Linked DNA regions of Homo sapiens: all the other regions are linked to region 1. Evidence: promoter capture Hi-C in 16 types of primary human blood cells and fetal thymus (Javierre and others, 2016). All regions are on one chromosome and are shown on one strand. The core of a region is centred on a gene start or on the middle of the fragment in contact, and the rest is flanking DNA. Distances in the headings are between cores, read along the strand shown. Region 1 holds the start of ADPGK-AS1 (ADPGK antisense RNA 1). Region 2 overlaps NEO1 (neogenin 1). Region 3 overlaps CELF6 (CUGBP Elav-like family member 6). Region 4 overlaps NEO1 (neogenin 1). Region 5 overlaps HEXA (hexosaminidase subunit alpha). Region 6 overlaps NEO1 (neogenin 1). Region 7 overlaps NEO1 (neogenin 1).

Region 1 (2,924 bases), core at 83-2,582:
TAGGCCTGGAAGAGGACAAGTCTAGCAAATGAGGGGACACGGGCGGAGGGAGGGATTAAAAGATGGGGGTGTGATCCGTGCCAATGGGGACACCCACTGGTTCGAATATTAACGCGAGGTTTGTCCGCTTCTTCACAATCTGTCCGTTTCGTTTTACTGCGAAAGCAAATGTGTTCCCATCCCTCTATTTGGGGATACGATTAGAGTTCCGGGAAGGGGGTGCAGCGCCCGGACTGGCACAACCGCCGTTGTCCCACCTCCTCCGGGGCGGCAACACCGCAGTGCCAGGCCTGGGACTGAGGCGTGGGGTCCCCCCTCGCTCCGTCCTGGCGCCGCCCGTCGCCCCGCCCCTTGGGGGGCCCCGTGGCGCACCCTTGTGACGTAGCGCTTGTGTCGACATCGGCGCGCGCCGAGCCCGGAAGAGGCGCGGGCTAGGAAAGGAGTTGGTTCGCGCAGGTGCGGCGCCTGGGTCCCCATGGCGCTGTGGCGCGGCTCCGCGTACGCGGGCTTCCTGGCGCTGGCCGTGGGCTGCGTCTTCCTGCTGGAGCCAGAGCTGCCAGGCTCGGCGCTGCGCTCTCTCTGGAGCTCGCTGTGTCTGGGGCCCGCGCCTGCGCCCCCGGGACCCGTCTCCCCCGAGGGCCGGTTGGCGGCAGCCTGGGACGCGCTTATCGTGCGGCCAGTCCGGCGCTGGCGCCGCGTGGCAGTGGGGTGAGTGCCAACGGGGCCTGGGTCTCTGAGCCTCCGAGGTCGGCCTTGGAGGTCGGGCGGAGCCGCGCAGAAACAGGGCTTCTCAGAGGTCCCCGGGAGGCGCTGCTGTCCGCGCTGGCCCCTTGGCGAGAAGTGTCGGACGTCTGAGTGGAACCCGGTTCGTCACCGCTGCTCTTTCCACTCGGCTGGCCTCTGCGCCTTTCTCTCATCCCGGTAGGACCAGCCCTAACAGCTTCTTGCTAATCCCGCTTTGTCTGACACCTTTCTCCGAGCCTTCTTCCTCGTTCCAACTTTTAGCCCCTTCTCTTCTGGCGACTGTTGTTTTGCAATCAAAGATACTTGACCTTACCCACTATGACAACACTCTTCCTCTTTCTTCTGAACTTCTTGAAGACGCGTGATGTCTGCCTTTACCCACTTTCGAAACGCCGTGTAGTCTAGAAACCACACGACTGTACTGCAACTCCTCTCAGATTTGCCTTTTTGAATCTTCATTATCTACTCTGCAGCCTTCCACGCATTGAACACGCCCTTCTCCGTGAAATTCTTTTCTTCCCCTGACTTCAGTGACACTGCATATTTAAGGTTCTTCCAAATGACACTACCTCCTTTCTTTGTACTTTTCCTTGGGAATGTAATTATTTTCTTTATAGTATTGATACTGTAAACACTAACTTTAGTCCCTGTCTCAGTTCGATTTGACTTTCTTGCCGTAATCTCAGAGTTATGTATAACCACCACATAAAAGCAGGCCCTCTACCATGTAGCTCACTACTTTCTGTGGAGTGTTGGGGCCGGGAGGGGTAAAGTAGAGCAAACTTGGCCTGAAGATTAAATGACATCATTCATGTAATCTCTCTAGCATAGTGCCTGCTTTAAAAAGCATTCGATATTAGCTATAATTTTGGGGTTTTTTTTTTTTTTTTTTTTTGGACACAGGGTCTCTCTCTCTGTCGCCTAGGCTGGAGTGCAGTGGTGCAATCACTGCTCACTGCAGCCTCGAACTCCCGAGCTCAAGAGATCCTTCTGCCTCAGCCTCTGGAGTAGCTGGGACGACAGGCAAGCACCACCACGCCCAGCCAATTTTTTATTTATTTTATTTTTTTTAGTAGAGTCGAGGTCTTGCTATATTGCCCAGGCTGGTCTCGAACTCCTGAGCTCAAGCCAGCCTCCCATCTTGGCCTCCCAAAGTGCTGGGATTAAATTGTCCTTCCTTGCTTTATGCGCGTTCATTCAGCAGATATTCACCAACTACATGGTTAGTGTCAGGTCTGTGCTAGGTTCTTAAGATACAGAGATGGGTGAAGCAAGGCCCCTGTCTCACTTGTTGGAAACATATTATTGTATCAGTCATTTGGGCTGCTAGAACAGAATACCACAAATTAGGTGGATTAAACAACAAATCTGTTTTCTCGTGGATCTGGAGGCTGATAGTCCAAGATCAAGGTGTTGGCAGGATTGGCTTCCGATGTGGCCTCTCTTCCTAGCTTGCAGCCAGCTGGCTTTTCAGTTAGTCTGCGCATGTACACTCCTGGTGCCTCTTATTCTTCTTATGTGGACACTAGGTCCTTTTGGAATAGGGCTCACCCGTATGACCTTATTTAACCTTAACTACTTCCTTAAAGGCCCTACGTCCAAATATAGTCACATTGGGAATTAGGGTTTCAGCATATGAATTGGTGGGGGGTGGACAATTCAATCCATAACAATTATGGTTAGAAGAGGAACAACCCACGAGGACCAGGCAGAAGCCTTAATGCCTTTTACGACCTTACCTTAGAAGCACATAGGAACTCTTCTACCAGAGTCACAGGTCCACCTGGTTTTAAGGGAGGGGACATAGAACAAACCTTGATGGGAGGAGCATCAGTGTCACATTGTGAAAAGAACATTTGGAATGGGGCATCTTATTGCCACCATCTTGGAAAATATATTTTACTACAGTGACTTTCATAGGACAGACACTAAATAAATGAGATTTCTTCAAGCCAAAGTGGGAACAGGTCCACCTAGGCAAGAGAACCAAATGTGAAAAAGTACATGGTTTGTTTGGGAACAGGTCGGCCTTGTTTTGGAGCGAGAATCCTATGGTAGAGGGTTGTAAAGAGATGATGCTGAGAACGAAGGGTTGGACCAGATTGTGAAGGGCCTTTTATGGGGAAGCCATAAAGGTTTGTAAGTAGTTAACTGATGACAAGTTCTTTGTTGAGAATTGG
Region 2 (2,889 bases), core at 355-2,854, 490 kb before region 1:
GCTCTTCACATTTATAGGAAAAGCTGCTTGGGAAAAGCAAATACGAGGACCTTTTTCCAATAAAGCAAAGGTGTCAATCTAAGGTTTATACCCAGAAAGCAATATCATACTTCTCCTGAAAAAGAGGTCTGAAAGAATTGCAAAGTAAAAGCTGTTTTATGAAGTTAACTATGAGGTTAATATAGCACATTGTTTAATAGACAGACTGCACTTGCATATTACCTCCATCATATACAACTGTTTGACTTTGGGCAAGTTATTTATTCTTTTTGGGCCTCAGTTTTCTCATTGTAACACAGGGATAATAATGGTATCCACTTCACAAAGCTGTTGTGAGGATTAAATGGAAATTTAATACCATAAAATATTTTTAATACTGACTGACACATAGTAGATGTTCCATAAATGTTAACCACTCCTATTACAAGCATAAAAAATCTTCACGAAAGAGTATAATCTTCTCTTTAAAGAGGCAGAGAGCATGAAGCTTCAAAAAACACTTATAAATGAGAGTTATTTCTACAAATAAAGCCTTACTAGAAATGTATAAACTAGGTGTTTCTGCAAAACATTAGAGCTAATGTCAAGTACTTCCATAAATTATCAGGAGATACATATATTCAATGAAATGAAAACATTAAAATCTGAAGTTTGTGTATGCAGTTCATCTAACAGAATAAATCCAGTGACTAAAACAATGCTATGCTTCCAGAAACTGAAAACCTACCAAAAGAAGGTAACAGGAGTTCCTGGATATCCAAAAGGGCATATTCTAGAATTTACTCACAGTCCCTGGCCCTTTTTCCATTGTCCACACATATTACTTTATCTCCTTACTTCTGATGCCATCATTTCTCCCAAGTGACACACACCATAGATTAAGAGTCCAGTTGTTCCTCATATGCTTTTCACTATGACAAAGTCTAGCTGGTGGAGATGGCTTAGCACCTGCAAGGCTCTTCAGGTTTAAGTGTACTTAGTTGACAGCTAGGCTACATTTAAGCCAAACTATCCAGAGCATTGGATTATGTACCTAATTGTCAAAGAACACACATTGCTAACAAACTGGATGGTTTATATTCCTGTATTTCCCAACATTGTTTCTCTTGAATGTAAACTATGAACAAGAAATTCCAAGGATGAACTGAGCACCAAAAATATCAATGAGTAAAGAATTTTAAATACCAGAGGTGTCAGGCAGCTAAGAATTGCACTCTGGCTATGGAATCAAGTGAGAAAACAATGAGCCCATTTATATTCTGTGCATATATATATTATGGGTATTTTTATATTCCTGCACTTTCACACAACAGAAAGTATGTTTGCAGTTTCTCCAATGTAGTGCAAAAGACTCACTGAATGCAAACACATTTCCAAAGTGTTCTGGAAAACTTGATACCTCAAGTTCTGACTCTTCCTTGCCATTAGCCAAGATCCAAATAACTTGCAATTCTAACAACTACTCTTAAACCAAGAGAGCAATAATTAAATTTACTTTTAATGTTCATTCTCAGTATGGAAAACATACTAGCATTAGCTGACTTCCTAGAGATAAAAATCACAAAATATAGCTATCCCTCCACCATGGCAGTTACAGTGTAAAGACTATTGACAGATGGTTTCAAGAATGGTGACATGGAGGCCCCTGTTTGCTAGGTCCCCATTTCAATTATCACTATTATTATTATTTATTTACTTTTTTTTTGAGACAGGGTCTCACTCTGTCACCTAGGCAGGAGTGCAGTGGTGTGATCACGACTCACTGCAGCCTCCACCTCCCAGGCTCAAACCATCCTCCCACCTCAGCCTCCGGAGTAGCTGGGATTATAGGTGCGCACCACCATGCCCAGCTAACTTTTTTTTCCTATTTTTTGTAGAGAGGGGGTCTCACTTTGTTGCCCAGGCTAGTCTTGAACTCTTGGGCTCAAGTGATCCTCCCACCTTGGCCTCCCAAAGTGCTGGGATTACAGGCCTGAGCCACCGTACGTGGCCTAAGTTTTTATTTCAAATAGTTTTGATCCTCTTTTAATATGATCAGATATATTTAAGGGGAGAAATGAAAAAAGAGCTCTGAATTAAGTTTATGGTAACAGAATAAACAAAGCAGTAATTTAGTCACACAGAATCACAACATTGAGTAAGGTAAATTTGTGGATTCTTTGTGGGAAGAGGAAAATAGGGTATTCACTGAATGTGATACAACTTTCCACTTAAAGACACTAATAAAATTCTAGATGCTACAAATATAAACAATTGGTATGATCAAATATGAACAACTGCTGCAAACATGAACAATTGGTATGATCGGTCTAATCATGACTTAAATGCTTATCGTTGTCACAGAACTTCAATATCTCAGCACAAAGGATGATCTGATCCACACTTAAGACGAATCTCCTACAGCTGCAGGACCAGTTTACTGGTTCAGTTTTCTTCTGCCAGCCTAGTTAGCTTCTACATAAATTCCCCAGCTTTTCAGAACATGGACTCAACTCTACTTTGGCCAATAACTGTGTGGCTTTTAACACATGGTGCTGATTTTTCAGGAAAAAAAAAAAAAAAAGAAACAAAAACCAAAAGCTAATAATAGGTCACAAAAGAAAGGAAAGAAAAGAGAGGCCATCTACTCATTTACCTTGATCATTAGGCATTTTATCAGAGGAGTCCGCTAACAGGCCAAGCACAGGGGAAGAAAAAACAAGAGCAAGGATCACAAGCTTTGAAGATGGGACAGGCAGAACTTTTTAAAGGAAAAAAACTAAAACCCCCACAAACTTCCAAACAAACTGAAACTTGACTTTAGTACTAACAGAAATTAAATTCATACAGGGCTTCCATAATTCCTTAGATTCAGTCCCCAGTTAAATTTTATTAGGCTAGGCTTACTTG
Region 3 (3,078 bases), core at 23-2,522, 500 kb after region 1:
AGCTGCCTTTAAATATCCCTAGGAGACAGGGTGAAGGAGACCCTTGACAGCCCCAGCCTAGGCAGATGGGGGCTGTGGAAAGATTGTTCTGTGTCTCATTCCCTCTTAAGCCACTCCCCCACCCTGCCCTTTTAAAAATAATTAAGGATTTGAGGTCTAGGCTCACATGCAGGTAATGAGAACGTTATGGAAGCAGTGAACCCACAATCCACAATCCCCAAACTCAGAGTGCATCCCAGAAGAGGCCCCAGGCAGAGCTCAGGTTGGCCCTGGCCTTTGCCATCCCGGGAGGCCCCCTAGCCAGCAAGAGTGGGATTGCCTTTCCTGTGGAACCACTGCTTCCCCAGGCGGGAAGAAAGAGGGAGTTCTGGCCACCTGAGCCTTTCCCTTGCCAATCCAGGTAGACAGAGGCCCTGCCTTTGGCTGAGCTGAGACACCTCCTGTTTCCCTTCCCCTTGAACCAGTCCCAGTGTCCCCTTGCTCCAGGCTACCTTCTGTCTCTTAGTCTAAGTTTGCCCACCTGTAAAGTAGATTCAGGATATCTGTAGAGGGCTGTGACAACAGACTTGGAAGGTTTGCTACTGTATATACTGCCATTGAGAAGGGGAAATTTTTCAATATGTAGAAGCTTCAGAATTAGAGGTCCCTCTTTACCCCAGACCTGGGAGGGAAGTAGATGTTTTGCCAAAATACTTCTTCATTCCTTTAAAAACTACATCTTTCCTATGCAAGAGTGTCTCACATGTGCTTAACCGAGGTGCTTCTAGTTGGTGAGCAGTGTTGAGCTTAGAAGTGGTGTGTGCTCTGTCTGTCTGTCTTTGTCTGTCTGTTGTATACAGTGGGTGCCATATAAAGCTGATCAATGGTGGTGCTTCCTGCCTGCTTCTGTGAGATGGGCAAAAGATTCAGCTTAGAACACCATGACTCACCTTGCCTTGGTCAGCCTTTCCTGGGCCTGTAGGGCCTTGCACATATTTTTCCCAGGAGGATTTCCCCTCCACCCCACAGGCATGGATCAGCTTGGTCTGAGGCCCCAGCTGTGTGGGGTCCCTCTAATCCCCAGATGTTGCTGAGGCTGAAGGCCTCTGATCTGATAACATGTCAGATAGTAAAAGATGTGGGGGTGGGGGTGGAGGGCTCCTCCTTCATAACAGTTTCTAAGAAAACTTGTTCCCACCTGTTCTTCTGTCTTCGACTCATTTTTGGAGGGAATGGGAATGAAACATAGATCTGGCAGTAATATTACCAGGTAAGGTGTGATGGACATCCACAAATATTTTCCAACCGAGGGAAGAACCAGAGGGTGTATGTGCACCAGCACAATGCTGACACCTAGAGTGACCACCCTAGACACAAATAGAGACACACAGTACCCGCACCCTCAAACTAATATTCACATGGAAGCAGAGAGTCCCCTCAGGCTAGGTGCTAAGCACTGTGCTACGTGTCGGGGCTCAGGTATGTTCAAAGTACTCAGAGTTAAGGGGAAAGAGAGACAAATAATCCAGTTACAATGGAGGGCCATAGAAGGTCTGTGCTAGCAAGAATGAGAGTACCTAGTTCAGACTTTATTGGTGGGGGAGGTCTGTGAAATACTTTCTGAAGGAGATTAAGAAGGGGAAAAGTCTTCAAGGATGAACTGGGACATTTGGACAAAGCCATTTAGACAGCTGCATCATTTTGAAAAATTATCTTTATTACCAAGAAATAATAATAATTACCATTTATTCAGTACCTGTTATATGGCAGATAATGGGCACAAGATAAGACCCTTTTCCCGTTCCTAACTCTACCCTGAACCTTACCATTACCAAGTCATGTCAAGACACTTGAACCAAAATGACATTTAAAATATCTGGCTTCATACTTTAGAGTATGGGCTAAGGACTGGCAGACTGTGTGATTCCAAAGCTTCAGGGTTTGACATGGTCTAGATCAGGGGTTGGCAAACTATGGCTTGTGGGCCAAATCTGGCCTGTGGCCTATTTTTGTATGAACTACCAAACTAATAATTTTTTTTACATTTTTGAAGGGTCGTCAAAACAAAACAAGAAAGTGAAACGGAGACCACATATGGCCCACACAGCCTAAAATATCTATCTATCTTGTCCTTTAGACAAAAAGTTTGCTGACCCCTGGTAAGATCATGGAAGACTTATATAATGTCTGATGAGCTTGAACAATATGGTGTTTGTGTCTCTCTGTGTGCATGTATTAGTCTGGACCTTTTCAGTTGCAAGTGTCAAAAACCCAACTCAAACATGTTTAGGCCAATTGGAAATTAATTGATTTACATAACTGATAAATCAAAGCATGTATCTGCCTTGAAGCATGGCTGGATCTAGGGGTTCAAAGGATGATGTCTCCATCTCTTGGCTCTGCTTCCTTCCATATGTTGGCCTCATTAGTTCTAGTTCTAAAATCCCAGGGAGGACTTTGGCCAGCTTTGGACACATGCCCACCACTAGGATAGAAGAGTAGGCCACCATAATTGACAACTTCATCAGGACTGTGTGGAAGGGGAGAAATGGGTCCCTAAGGAAGAGATGATGGGCAGATAAATGAAATGCACCCACTATATCCCACCCTTTATTGCATCCACCTATACTTTTCTTGACAAACATACAATTTCAAAAATGTGCCTGCCTGACAATGCAATAATCATAGACCCAACAAAAACCACATTCACCTATTTCCCAAGGGGAGATAAAACAGAATTACATCCAGTTGCTTTATTGAGTCCTCAGTCCAGGGTCCCTTGGTGATGGGCAATTCTTGCTCAGGTCTGGATATGACTTCTTAAGATTTTGCCATCTATAGGTAAAAGATAAACTTAGCTACCCCATACTTGCCCTATAACCAATGTGAAATAAGGAGAAAAAGAAGATCACAATTTGTTTTAAAGAGATGGGGCCTTGCTAATGCTGTCCAGGCTGGACCTGAACTGCTGGGCTCAAGCAATTCTCCTGCCTCAGCCTCCTGAGAAGCTGGGAATACAAATACACACCACTGAATAATTTTTAATTCTTTTTTTTTAAATTAAGATGGGGTCTTGCTATGTTGCCCAGGCTAGATTTG
Region 4 (2,891 bases), core at 278-2,777, 330 kb before region 1:
GTTTTATTTCAAACCCTAGAATCAGATTTATAAATACTTTAAGTTACTGCATTCAAAGTGAAATTCTCTGTTGAACATAAAAGAGGCAGAAAATTAAAATGATTCTTAAGAGGTATCTTTTTATGTTTATCAGTTATTTGTATTTTTTTCATAAATTTACTATACACACACTTTGTCCATTTTCTAGAGAATTTATTCATCCGACTGACTTAAAAAGCAATCTGCTATCATATTTTACAAATATTCTTTTTTCCATTTGACTTTATAATATTTGTTATAAGAATAAATTTTAAGCTACATAAAACTAAACATAGTTATACTTAGGTCTTTTTTATCCCAAGATCATAAAAAATTTCAGCCTTGCTTTGTTCTATTACTCTTGTGATTTTCTACATTTAATCTTCATCTAGAATTCATTTTAGTGTAAAGAGCACGGAAGGAATTAGCTTACTTTCTCTAAGTCCCTGTCAGTTCTTTGAACATGGGAAGAACAAAATTTAAAGAAAAATATTTGTTATAAACCTTATACTCTCAGCCTGTTGGAAAGCTTTCCAACTTAAAGCTTTATCACTTTTCTTCAAGAAAACTTCTGACCAATTCCCTTGTAAACAACTCAAGTTGTCATCAGCTTTCTTCATGTGAAAAATCAGAGAAACCCAATCCAGCAAATGAAACTAAGACTGTTTTTCGAATATATCTACACACTTCTTTATAATTTATTTGCATTATGAATTTAAGGATGACATAAATTCTATATTATATAATGAACAAACACCTCTAAAGAAATATAAAACACACTGGCAGAGGAAAAGAAATAACATTCAATTGTTTTAAAAGTTTTCCAATACTTCAATGATAAACAAATTCTAATTCTAATCAGACTAATTACACTTTCCCAAACACCACAAGCAGGTATTAGAAAAGAGGTGGCTGGGCACGGTGGCTCACGCCTGTAATCCCAGCACTTTGGGAGGCCAAGGTGGGTGGATCATGAGGTCAGCAGTTCGAGACCAGCCTGGCCAACATGGTGAAACCCCATCTCTACTAAAAATACAAAAATTAGCCAGGCATGGTGGCACATGCCTGTAGTCCCAGCTAGTTGGGAGGCTGAGGCGGGAAAATCACTTGAACCTGGGAGGTGGAGGTTGCAGTGAGCCGAGATTACACCATTGCACTATAGCCTGGCAAGAGCCAGACTCCGTCTCAAAAAAAAAAAGTGTTTCAGGTCTCTATGCCCATTTAATGACCATGAAATTTATTTTTCAAGTCTTAAAATTCCTGAAAATAAGCTTAGAAATTTTTAAAAAGTAACCTGCAATTAGTTTCTTATTACTATCAAAATGTTTATGTTGCATTAGTTTACTGGAATCATAGTAGAATAAACACATAAATAAAAAGTATAAAAAGATAGCTAAACTAAGAGAAATTACCTTTATATCTTTACTATGTAACTATTAAATCTCTATTATACCCCCCAAACTTAACTCAGAAACTTAAAAGATAAATGTGTTAGATTGGTGGTTAAAATACACAAATTAAAAATCTGAAATATTGTATTACTGATAATAAAATACATTCTATTTCAAAATTACAACACAATTTTTGCCATTTGAAAAAATACCCCCAAAATTACAATTTAAATGTTTCGCAGTTTAACACTGTCTTGCTTTTTATTTCATTTTTAAAATTGAGCCAGGTTGAACAACGAAAAAAAGTATATGTGTTTGAAAAAGTAAGAGTGAATTACACTCAAAGGAAAGCTTACAAATGCCTTTCAAAATCAAGGCACTTCAAAATTTTTACAAAAAGTTACTTAAATATTTCTGTATATCGTTTTGTATTTTGTTCTCTCAGTAGGAGGGCAGTGACCTAAGATATCCTCTCTTCACTTAAAACCCCTCAAAGGCTTGCCGTTGCCTTTTACAAAGAAACCTGAAGAAACTCCTTTAGTCGACTGCCACGTCAGTCACCACCTGATCTAGCTTCTGCCTATTTCCAGCTCCCCTGCATTGCTCTCCCAGTCAGTTCCCCACCGCTCCCGCCTCTTCACACAAGCTATTCCCACCACCACTCCTTTTCAGTCAGTTCTCAGTCTTCCTTCAAGCTCAGCTTAAATATCATTTGCTCAGAAATGCTGTCTGTCCCAGGTGCCCAGGCAATGTTAGTTTTGCCTGTTCTAAGCAAGCATGGTGTATGCGCTACCTACAGAGCACTCCAAATGTTCTTAATCTTTGAATATTTGTAATAACTTTAAGTTAAAGTAGAGAGGTTCCCAAACTTGCTTGGCTCCTGGTACCCTTATTTTCTCTATAATTTCTTTCAAGAATTCCATAGGTCAAAAGAGATAGCTAACCATCCTATTTCTTTTAACAGTTAGGTTCAAACAAAATGAGTATCTATGTCCCAACAAATTAACACCTTTTTGAAAAAATAATACATGCAAACTGAAAAATATATATATATATTTCATTTTAAAATAACCACAATTAGTTACTATGGGATGTTTTCACCTACAGGGCCCTGCACAACTTCTAAAACTTAGATGCTGTGCAACTAAATACTGCCACCCACATTTCCTGTTCCACACTGATTTTTGCATAGTACTTGCTTTTTAAAACAGTAACCACTAAAAGCTCAACTTCACAAAGATATCACAGGTACAAAATGAAGATGGCACAATCAGCTGTTGAAACTGTGAACTACCTTGAGCTAGAAGTTCGCATAATGTCCAACAGATGTGGCCATGTTTCCCTAGAAGTTTGAAATGACCCTGGGAGTTCTCTGAGGTTCCTTTGGGTATCTCAGGGTATAGTTTGGGAAATGCAGGCTTATGATCTATCTTTGTACAGTTTTCATTTGCTATATTCCCAGTACCCACCTAGCATGGTGGA
Region 5 (3,043 bases), core at 346-2,845, 410 kb after region 1:
TCCTCCAAACAACTTATTTGTAGGCTCTGGGCCAGTAGGTTTTGTTTGTTTGTTTGTTTTTGTTTTTTTGAGACAGAATCTTGCTTAGTCACCTAGGCTGGAGTTCAGTGGCACAATCTTGGCTCACTGCAACCTCTGCCTCCCGGTCTCAAGCAATTCTCCCACCTCAGCCTCCTGAGTAGCTGGGACCACAGGAGCATGCCACCACACCTGGCTAATTTTTGTATTTTCTGTAGATGGGGTTTCGCCATGTTGCCCAAGCTGGTCTCCAATTCCTGAGCTCAAGTGATCCCCCTGCTTTGGCCTACCAAAGTCCTGGGATTACAGGGTGGAATGAGCCACCTGACCAGCCCAGTGTTTTTCCTAATGCAATACAACTTCTGGTTTTTGTCTGAACCTGAAACTAAGAATTCATACTCCCTTTTCTGAAAAAGAAGTCTGGTATTGAGGTTCAGTTCTATTTTGAATTCACCTTCAAGGGTTAGTCCCACCAGTTGCTAAATGGTCTGTGAAGGTGTTTAGTATTTGCCACCTTTCTTTGTCATTGAGAGGTGTTTCTACCAATTGGAGGGTGTGTGTTGCATGTTGTTGAACCTGTTAAATAGACTTATTTTAGGAACTAGATACTTGAATGAATCTAGTTCCCTGTTTGATTATTAAGCCACATCCTGTTTGCAAAGCAAAGATGTGATTATTTGGAATTTGGAATGGCACCCATCTAATGTTGCTCCAGACATTTAATAAGCATGGTGTGGAGCATGGTGCTTGATGGAGCTGATAAAGTCCAAATTTTTCCAAGTAAAGTGGCTAAGTCTAATTCTGCCATTAGACTGCATTTTTTTTTTTTTTTTGAGATGGAGTCTTGCTCTGTTGCCCAGGCTGGAATGCAGTGGTGTGATTTTGACTCACTGCAACCTCCACCTCCTGGGTTCAAGTGATTATCCTGCCTCAGCCTCCCAAGTAGCTGGGAATTCAGGCACCCACCACCATGCCTGGCTAATTTTTTATTTTTTAGTAGAGACGGGGTTTAGTAGCGATGGGGTTTCACCACGTTGGCCAGACTGGTCTCGAACTCCTGGCCTCATGTGATCTGCCCACCTCAAGATTACAGGTGTGAGCCACTGCACCTGGCCATGACTGCATTCTTCTTTGCTTTTCCTGAAACTGGTTGATAGAAGCCATAGTATATCATAGATATTATAAGGTTCCCATCCTGGTCTGATGTTCACCTGCACATCCCTGTGAGTTGCTGAGGATGCCATTGTCCTTCAACAGAATAATCCTGCCCCCCTTCTCCAGCCCTTTTATTCTGGAATGGAAGTAAGATTATTATATAAGAGCCTGTGTCCTTCTGCAGCCATTATCAGTATTTGATTTGCTCATCCTCAGATATTAAAGAAGTGACTAAATTAATAAATGGCATAGTTCATTATAATCTGGATCTCCTAAAATACCTTCTTTGGCCATTTCTTCTGTATCTGGAACGTTGTAGATATGTAGTAATTATTTGTAAAATATATTAACGTTAAAGAGCTACTTTGTGTAAACATTTGTAAGAAGGCTTTATGGGTTTGGGTTTTGTTTTCTTTTTTTTTTTTTTTTTTTTTTCTTTTAGAGACAGGGTCTTATTTTGTCACCCAGTCTGGAGTGCAGTGGCACAAACACAGCCCACTGCAGCCTCGACCTCCGAGGCTCAAGCTGTCCTCCCATCTCAGCCTCTTGAGTAGCTGGGACTACAGGTGCATAGCTAATTTTTGTAGAGATGGAGTACCACCATGTTGCCCCAGCTGGTCTCGAACCCCTGGGCTCAACCACTCTGCCTGCTTCAGCCACCCAAAGTGTTGGGATTACAGGTCTGAGAAGATCATCAAAAAGATATGATTTGCAGGTTTTCATTGAGGATTACCTTTCCTTTCAGGTTACCAATTTGGAGTGTAAGTGTGTGATTCCAGGCAAAGGATAATCACACTATGCTGCTTATTGTGTGATCCCAACTCGTGCTGCTCTTAACTCAGCATGCAGTGAGAGATGCATTGGGATTGCATCTAGGAGGGAAACAGATAAGGTCAAGCAGCTGGGCTGGGGAGAAAGAATAAGGCCGATTAGTTCTCTCCACTTTAATTGGGCTAGCGGCTAACTATACTTTAACCTTTCCCACGGCAAAGACAAGGCATATTCCTGCCAAAGATGATTGCCACTAAGTTTATTGTTTTAAAAGCAAAGAGGAAGAAAACAACACGGGAAGAAGGTTTTGTAGTAGAATTACTTTTTCTCATGAAGGGGTTTCTGGAGAACGAGGGATACATAGGAGAAATACAGTGATGAATAAATTGTCTTTAGAAAGAAGGTGATGGCAGAAGCACAGTTTTTAGTTGAAGGGCAAAATAAGTGTCATATTTCATTTTGAATCCCAGGGCCTAGATTAGCTTGGCCTGCAGTCTTCCACCAGCCTCTCTTCTCACAGCCCTGTTTTTTTCTTTTCTTTTCTTTCTTTTTTTTTTTAAGAAACAGGTCTTTCTCTGTCATTCAGACTGGAGTGCAGTGGTGTGATCACGGCTTACAGCAACCTCGAACTCCAGGACTCAAGCAGTCTTCCCGCCTCACTGATGAGTAGCTAGGACTACAGACGCATGCCACCGCACCCAGCTAATTTTTTTATTTTTTGCATTTTGTAGAGATGGGGGTCTTACTGTGTTGCCCAGGCTGGTCTTGAACCCCTGGCTTCAAGCGATCCTCTTGTCTCGGCCTCCCCGAGTGCTGAGATTACAGGTGTGAGCCACCATTTATTACCTAAAGCATGATACTTTTCTAGTATCCCTGTATAGTACTGAGTCCAAGAAGCTAAACTTGATCAAGGTGTATGTGGGTAGCCTGGGCCTGGTTTATGAAAAATTTGAGTTTTATTTCTGTGAGCTGTAGGTGTTCCCCTGCTTTGGATATTCTGTTTGAACACAGTATACATTGGAGGACTCAGGATGTGGAACATGATTCATTCAGGAGTCAGCTGAGAAAGTGTTTATTAACCCCTTAACTCTGTGCCTTC
Region 6 (2,808 bases), core at 281-2,780, 310 kb before region 1:
CTCAAACTAGATCCTATTCAGGCATCTTATAACAAGTTAACACAAGTTTATTTTGATGTAAAGAAATTTTGAAATCCATGCATAGTTTTTTCATATATGCATTTTCCATGAACTTTCTGAAGACCCATGGGACATTTAGGCTTCAATAATGATAATAAAACAACTGAAATGGTCAAATCTGTTGAATTCCATTACTTTAATCTCAAAAAAAAAAAAACAAATAAAGACTAATTGGTCATCTTTCGTGAATGCTATAGAACCAAATCATCTTGAAAACTTTTCAAAAGGAAGAGGAAAAAAATTAAACATCTTTCCCCATCAAACTGTTCCTGGTGGCAATAAAATTGTTGGTGAAAGTTTCTGTTTATAGAAGTACTCTACCAAATAAATGAAAAAATGATAGATTATCACTATTTTGCAACTCCTAATGAATCAACAGCTCTAGGCAATAAAAAGTAAACGGTACAGAAGTCAGCAAATATTTTCTGTAGAGGGCCAGACAGAAAATATGTTAGGCTTTTCAGGCTACACACAGTTGCTGTCGCAAATTCTCCTTTGCTTATTTTTTTAATTCTTTTTTAAAAACACTTTCAAAATGTAAAAATCAACATTAGCTTATAGGTTATTTAAAAAACAAGCCAGAGACAACTGACCATTAGCTGTTAAGTTTTTTTTTTTTTTTTAAGACAGAGTCTCACTCTGTCGCCAGGCTGGAGTGCAGTGGCACAATCTCAGCTCACTACAACCTCTGCCTCCTGGGTTCAAGCAATTCTCCTGCCTTAGCCTCCTGAGTAGCTGAAACTTCAGGTGCACACCACCATGCCCGGCTAATTTCTGTATTTTCAGTAGAGACGGGGTTTCACCATGTTGGCCAGGATGGTCTCAATCTCTTGACCTCGTGATCCGCCCGCCTCAGCCTCCCAAAGTGCTGGGCTTATAGGTGTGAGCCACCGTGCCCAGCCTAGCTATGGTTTTCTAAACCCTGGTAGCTAATAGCAACAGAGAAACAGACCCAAACAGACATTACACACCTCTTGATGAAAGAATAAATTACCATCACCTATGTGGCAGTCCAACAAAACCCTGAAATGATCAAATCTCTAGATCCAACTAACAATTAAGAAACAAAAATAAAAATAAAAAAGACAGAGGAAGATGGTAAGAAACACCATGGGGAAGCAACCAGCAATATCCCAACCATGTGGAAATTCTTCTGGACAAATGACAAAGAAGAAAACAGGGAGGTGAAGAGGGGATAATTATCACTTAAAAGAAACTTAAAACGTATACCAATCAATTGTGTAGATACTAATTCCAATTCAAACAACAACAAAATCTTTAGAAAGGCTATTGTATAGAATATACATTGCAGCATTATTCATAATAGCCAAAAGGTATAAACACGCAAATAAACCAATGTCCTTCAACTAATGATTATATAACATGTATTATATCCAGACAATGAAGTTATTATTTGGCCATAAAAAGGAATGAAATACTAATACAAGCTACAACATGGACGAACCTTGAAAACATCATGCTAAGTAAAAGCTGCCAGGCACAAAAGATCACATATTATATGACTTCATTTACATGAAATATCCCGAATAGGTAAATCAAAAGAGTGTTATCTAGGACCGGGGAACATGAGAAATGGACAGTAGACTGCTTATGGGGTATAAGATTTCTTTTGGGGTGATGAAAATGTTCTAAAATTGATTGCGGCAATGGCTGCACATCTGTGAATATATCAAAAGCTACTGAGTTGCACATTTTAAATAGGTGGATTATATAGTATGTGAGTTATATCGCAATTAAAAAAAATAGTTATAGAAGGAACCAGGGCTCCTTGAAGGAATGGTTAATTCTAAAATTAGGCAAGAAATACAAATGATGAGTCTGGAGCATGTTGTAGTGCCCAAAGGTAAGGAAGTGCTAAAAACAAAACAAAACAAAAAGCACAATGATGGAGGTATGTCAATGAGACACCGGGGCCAAATTAAGGAGCTTCCGGCCAGGCACAGTGGCTCGTGCCTATAATCCCAGCACTCTGGGAGGCCAAGGCAGGTGGATTGCTTGAGCTTAGGAGTTCGAGACCAGCCAGGGAAGCATGGCGAAACCCTGTCTCTACAAAAAATACAAAAAATTAGCCAGGCGTGGTTGGTAGTGCACGCCTGTGGTCCCAGCTACTTGGGAGGTTGAGGTGGGAGGATCACCTGAGCCTGGGAGGCAGAGGTTGCAGTGAGCTGTAAGCATGTCACTGCACTCCAGCCTGGGTGACAGAGCACGACCTTGTATCCAAAAAGAAAAAAAAAAAAAGGAACTTCCCATGGTCAAAGCTGAAACAATTTAAGCAACAAAATAAAGGATTACTGGATTATAATCCAAAGTACAAAATAAATACCCATGAGTTCATAATATACAGTTGAAAGATTTTTAAATGGAGAAAAAAGACAAATACCCCATGCAGAAGAATTCCAAATAATTCACATAGAAACACCACCCTCTACGAGGGAGAACATAATTCCCCACTCCTGAAGTGCAGGCTGCCCATGGTGACTTTCTTCTCAAAAGAGTACAGTATGGAAAAAGGTAGGTGACTTTACCAGGGAGAACTTGACAAACACAATCTCAGCCAGGTGATCAAGGTCAATGTTAATAGTGATACATCATGTTGATATTATGTATCAATGCCTTGAAATGGTGTGATGGCACTTTACCTCTGTGGTCATCCTTCCAAAACCATAAGCCCCAGTCTAATCCTGAGAAAAACATCAGACAAATCCTAACAGAGAAACATTCTATAAA
Region 7 (2,806 bases), core at 64-2,563, 420 kb before region 1:
AAACCTCCTTCCCCAAAAAGAGTGCTTATGACAAACTTTTATGAATAAACTTGTGATAGGTCAACAACCTATCAACAACCTAATATAGGGATAATCAAAGGCAAATATGTATAGAAAGCTAAACAATCTAGAATTAACAATTAACACAATGAAAGAGAGGCATAAAATTCAACAAGAGAAATAATAAAGGAAACAGCAAATAAGGAAACAGGAGAAAACTTCAAGAGATATCAATATTAGAATACCATAAAACAAGAATAAGCTGTTATAAAAAAAAGTTTACAGGCCAGGTGTGGTGGCTCATGCCTGTAATCCCAGCACTTTGGGAGGCTGGGGTGGGCAGATTGCTTGAGCTCAGGAGTTCAAGACCACCCTGGGCAACATGGTGAAACCTCATCTCTACTAAAATACAAAAAATTAGCTGGACGTAGTGGCACATGCCTGTAGCCCAGCTACTCAAGAGGCTGAGGCATGAGAATCACTTGAGCCTGGGAGGCAGGGGTTGCAGTGAGCCGAGATCGCACCACTGCACTCCAGCTTGGGCTACAGAGTAAGGCTCTGACTCAAAAAAAAACAAAAAAAAAATTACAGATGTTGAAAATTAAAAATATAGCCAGGAGAGATGTCCAGTTTCAATGGTGGCATGTAAATAGCTTGAAAGTCATCATTTTCATTCTTACAAGAAAAAGCTGGAAAATTGAAAATGAATGACTTTCCTGGACTCACTAGAGAAATGAGATTGCAGGGCAAATCCCCACCCCAAACTGTAGAGACAGGTGCATTCAGAGACATACAGCAACCAAGATTTGCTTACATGAAGCAGAAGCCATGGGAGACATAAACTGGTAGGAACACTTAAAAGGTAATCTTACAAATTGCTAGAGGTTGAGTGTGGACTATTGTGAGAATGAAAAAATCCTGGGGGCCACAGTCTTAGGGGTGACTACATTTCTGTGGACATTCCCTCCAGGAATTTTACCAGGTTGTCATCACGAGGATTCCAAAAGATTCCCTCCTGTCTCTGGCAGGGGGAGAGGAAGAGTAACCATCATGAAACATGCCCAGAACCTGTTCCAGAGAATTAATTGTGAAAGCTTATCCCAGCTAGAGGAAAGAAATTCCTTGTTCCTCCAATTTTCTTCAGCTTTCCTGTTTGACCTAAGTGGGGGTTAGAAGAGAATACGACAACCCATAGTCAAGAGAGGACAGGGGCTTCAGGAAATAGATTGGGAACACTACAGATGGGAAAGGGAATAGGGAACAGGGGGAAGAAAGCTGTACTACTGGAGAAACACTTGTGAAGGTCACAACCATAAGACAAGCCCCCTGAAAACCTGAGACTTAATCAAAGATCATAGCATGTCCTTCTCCCTCACATCTTAACATTATACAAACAGTGCTCAAGAATAATAGCGGAAACAACTATTAGCTGAAAGAACTGCAAGAAAAAGGCTCCCTCTGAGGAGTAATACTTAGGGAAGTTCCGAAGTCAAGAGTAGAGACAAAAAATCAAGTACGCTAAAGAAGCTTCAAGTCTCTGATAACCTATAGCTACAACAAACATTAAACACACAACCCAACTTCTAGCTGGATTAACATAAATCCTCACACTAAAGGCCTATTTATCTCAGTTCTTATTACTGCATACAAGACACCAAGCTTTCAACAAGAAATTATAATATTTTCATGCCCCAAACAAGAAAAACCCCAGTCTGAAGAAACAAAACAACCATCAGAAAAAGACAAAGATGTTGGAATTATCACCAGGGTATTTCAAATAACTATGACTAGAATGCTAAGGGCTGTAATGAAAATAAGTAGGGAACATGCAAGAAGAGACTAGTAAGCACAGAGACAGAACTGTAAAAAAAGAATCAAAAGGAATTCTACAAAGAAAAAATGAAGCATGCCTTTGATGGGCTCATCAGTAGATTCAACGTGGGTGTGGAAAGAATGGGTCAATTGAGGACAGCCAGTAGAAACTTCCTACACTAAAATGCAAAGAGAAAAAAGAATGAAAAAAACAGAATATCCAAAATCATGGGGCATTATCAAAAAGTGGAATGTACATCTAATTGGAATATCAGAGAAGAGAGAATAAAGCGAGAATTTTCCAAAATTAATGACAAACACCTAACCACAGATCCAAGAAGCTGAGAGGATACCAAGCACAATAAATATTTTAAAAATCTACACCTAAGCACATCATACCCAAACTGCAGAAAACCAAAGACAAAGCGAAAATCTTGAAAGACGGCAGAATAAAAAAAACCACCCTACCTCCAGAGGAATAATGATAAGAATTACAGTGGAGAGCATGTCAAAAGCCATGTTAAGTGTAGTGAAATATTCAAAGTGCTGAAAAAAAAACCCACCAACCTTACATTCTATATCCAGCAAAATTGCACTTCAAAGGTTAATGAGAAATAAAAACTTTCTCAGACAAACAAAAATAAGGAGAATCAATCAGCAGATAATTTGCCCTGCAAGAAATGTTAAAAGAAGTTCTTCAAGCAGAAGGAAAATGATATAGGTCAGAAACTTGGATTTACAAAGAAAGAAAGAGTGCTGGAGAAGGAAAAAGCAAAGGTAAAATAAAATCTTTTATTTTTCTTATTCTTAGTTGACCTAAAAGGTAATGATTTGTTTAAAGCAATAGTAGTAACAATATACTGGGTAGCTACAGCATATGGGTAAGTGAAATAAATGACAGCACTATTACAAGGGATGGGAGGGAAGAATTGGGAATACTCTTATAAAATACCTATAGTACAAATGAAGCAGTATAGTGTTGTCTTAAGAACCT

The links. The method cuts DNA at HindIII sites, captures the fragments that hold promoters and counts their contacts. A CHiCAGO score of 5 or more calls a contact.
Region 2: a contact is called between a fragment that was not itself captured here and the fragment with the promoter of ADPGK-AS1 in region 1, in 7 of 17 cell types (megakaryocytes, erythroblasts, naive CD8 T cells and 4 more). The highest score is 13.0, in megakaryocytes.
Region 3: a contact is called between a fragment that was not itself captured here and the fragment with the promoter of ADPGK-AS1 in region 1, in 1 of 17 cell types (fetal thymus). The highest score is 5.5, in fetal thymus.
Region 4: a fragment that was not itself captured here is called in contact with the fragment with the promoter of ADPGK-AS1 in region 1 in 1 of 17 cell types (megakaryocytes); the score reaches 5.6 in megakaryocytes.
Region 5: a contact is called between a fragment that was not itself captured here and the fragment with the promoter of ADPGK-AS1 in region 1, in 1 of 17 cell types (fetal thymus). The highest score is 5.9, in fetal thymus.
Region 6: a fragment that was not itself captured here is called in contact with the fragment with the promoter of ADPGK-AS1 in region 1 in 7 of 17 cell types (naive CD4 T cells, M2 macrophages, total CD8 T cells and 4 more); the score reaches 9.8 in naive CD4 T cells.
Region 7: a contact is called between a fragment that was not itself captured here and the fragment with the promoter of ADPGK-AS1 in region 1, in 1 of 17 cell types (megakaryocytes). The highest score is 5.8, in megakaryocytes.

Annotation. Positions count from the first base shown.
Region 1 is chr15:72,781,243-72,784,166 of GRCh38, reverse strand. It overlaps ADPGK-AS1 (ADPGK antisense RNA 1), which reads right to left and starts at 1,332. Exons shown (of 3, transcript NR_040107.1): 1 at 1-1,332. It overlaps ADPGK (ADP dependent glucokinase), which reads left to right and starts at 409. Exons shown (of 7, transcript NM_001365225.1): 1 at 409-708. The coding sequence starts at 476. RefSeq lists enhancers at 1-93, 144-203, 964-1,033 and a silencer at 254-713. The HindIII fragment of the contact is 5,666 bases long and covers 1-2,924 here.
Region 2 is chr15:73,274,471-73,277,359 of GRCh38, reverse strand. NEO1 (neogenin 1) reads right to left here. Exons shown (of 29, transcript NM_002499.4): 21 at 2,636-2,668. Among named protein-coding and RNA genes, the nearest start is that of MIR12135, 24 kb to the left of the region's middle. The HindIII fragment of the contact is 2,230 bases long and covers 490-2,719 here.
Region 3 is chr15:72,282,831-72,285,908 of GRCh38, reverse strand. It overlaps CELF6 (CUGBP Elav-like family member 6), which reads left to right. Exons shown (of 13, transcript NM_052840.5): 13 at 1-1,182. It overlaps LOC105370887 (a long non-coding RNA gene), which reads right to left. Exons shown (of 2, transcript XR_932440.3): 2 at 2,718-2,814. Among named protein-coding and RNA genes, the nearest start is that of PARP6, 12 kb to the right of the region's middle. The HindIII fragment of the contact is 1,283 bases long and covers 631-1,913 here.
Region 4 is chr15:73,113,378-73,116,268 of GRCh38, reverse strand. All of the region lies in intron 1 of NEO1 (neogenin 1), which reads right to left. Among named protein-coding and RNA genes, the nearest start is that of NEO1, 62 kb to the right of the region's middle. The HindIII fragment of the contact is 471 bases long and covers 1,292-1,762 here.
Region 5 is chr15:72,370,157-72,373,199 of GRCh38, reverse strand. The region is part of intron 1 of HEXA (hexosaminidase subunit alpha); the gene reads left to right. Among named protein-coding and RNA genes, the nearest start is that of HEXA, 4.3 kb to the left of the region's middle. The HindIII fragment of the contact is 4,935 bases long and covers 1-3,043 here.
Region 6 is chr15:73,093,083-73,095,890 of GRCh38, reverse strand. All of the region lies in intron 1 of NEO1 (neogenin 1), which reads right to left. Among named protein-coding and RNA genes, the nearest start is that of NEO1, 42 kb to the right of the region's middle. The HindIII fragment of the contact is 3,259 bases long and covers 1-2,808 here.
Region 7 is chr15:73,203,685-73,206,490 of GRCh38, reverse strand. The region is part of intron 7 of NEO1 (neogenin 1); the gene reads right to left. Among named protein-coding and RNA genes, the nearest start is that of MIR12135, 95 kb to the left of the region's middle. The HindIII fragment of the contact is 433 bases long and covers 1,097-1,529 here.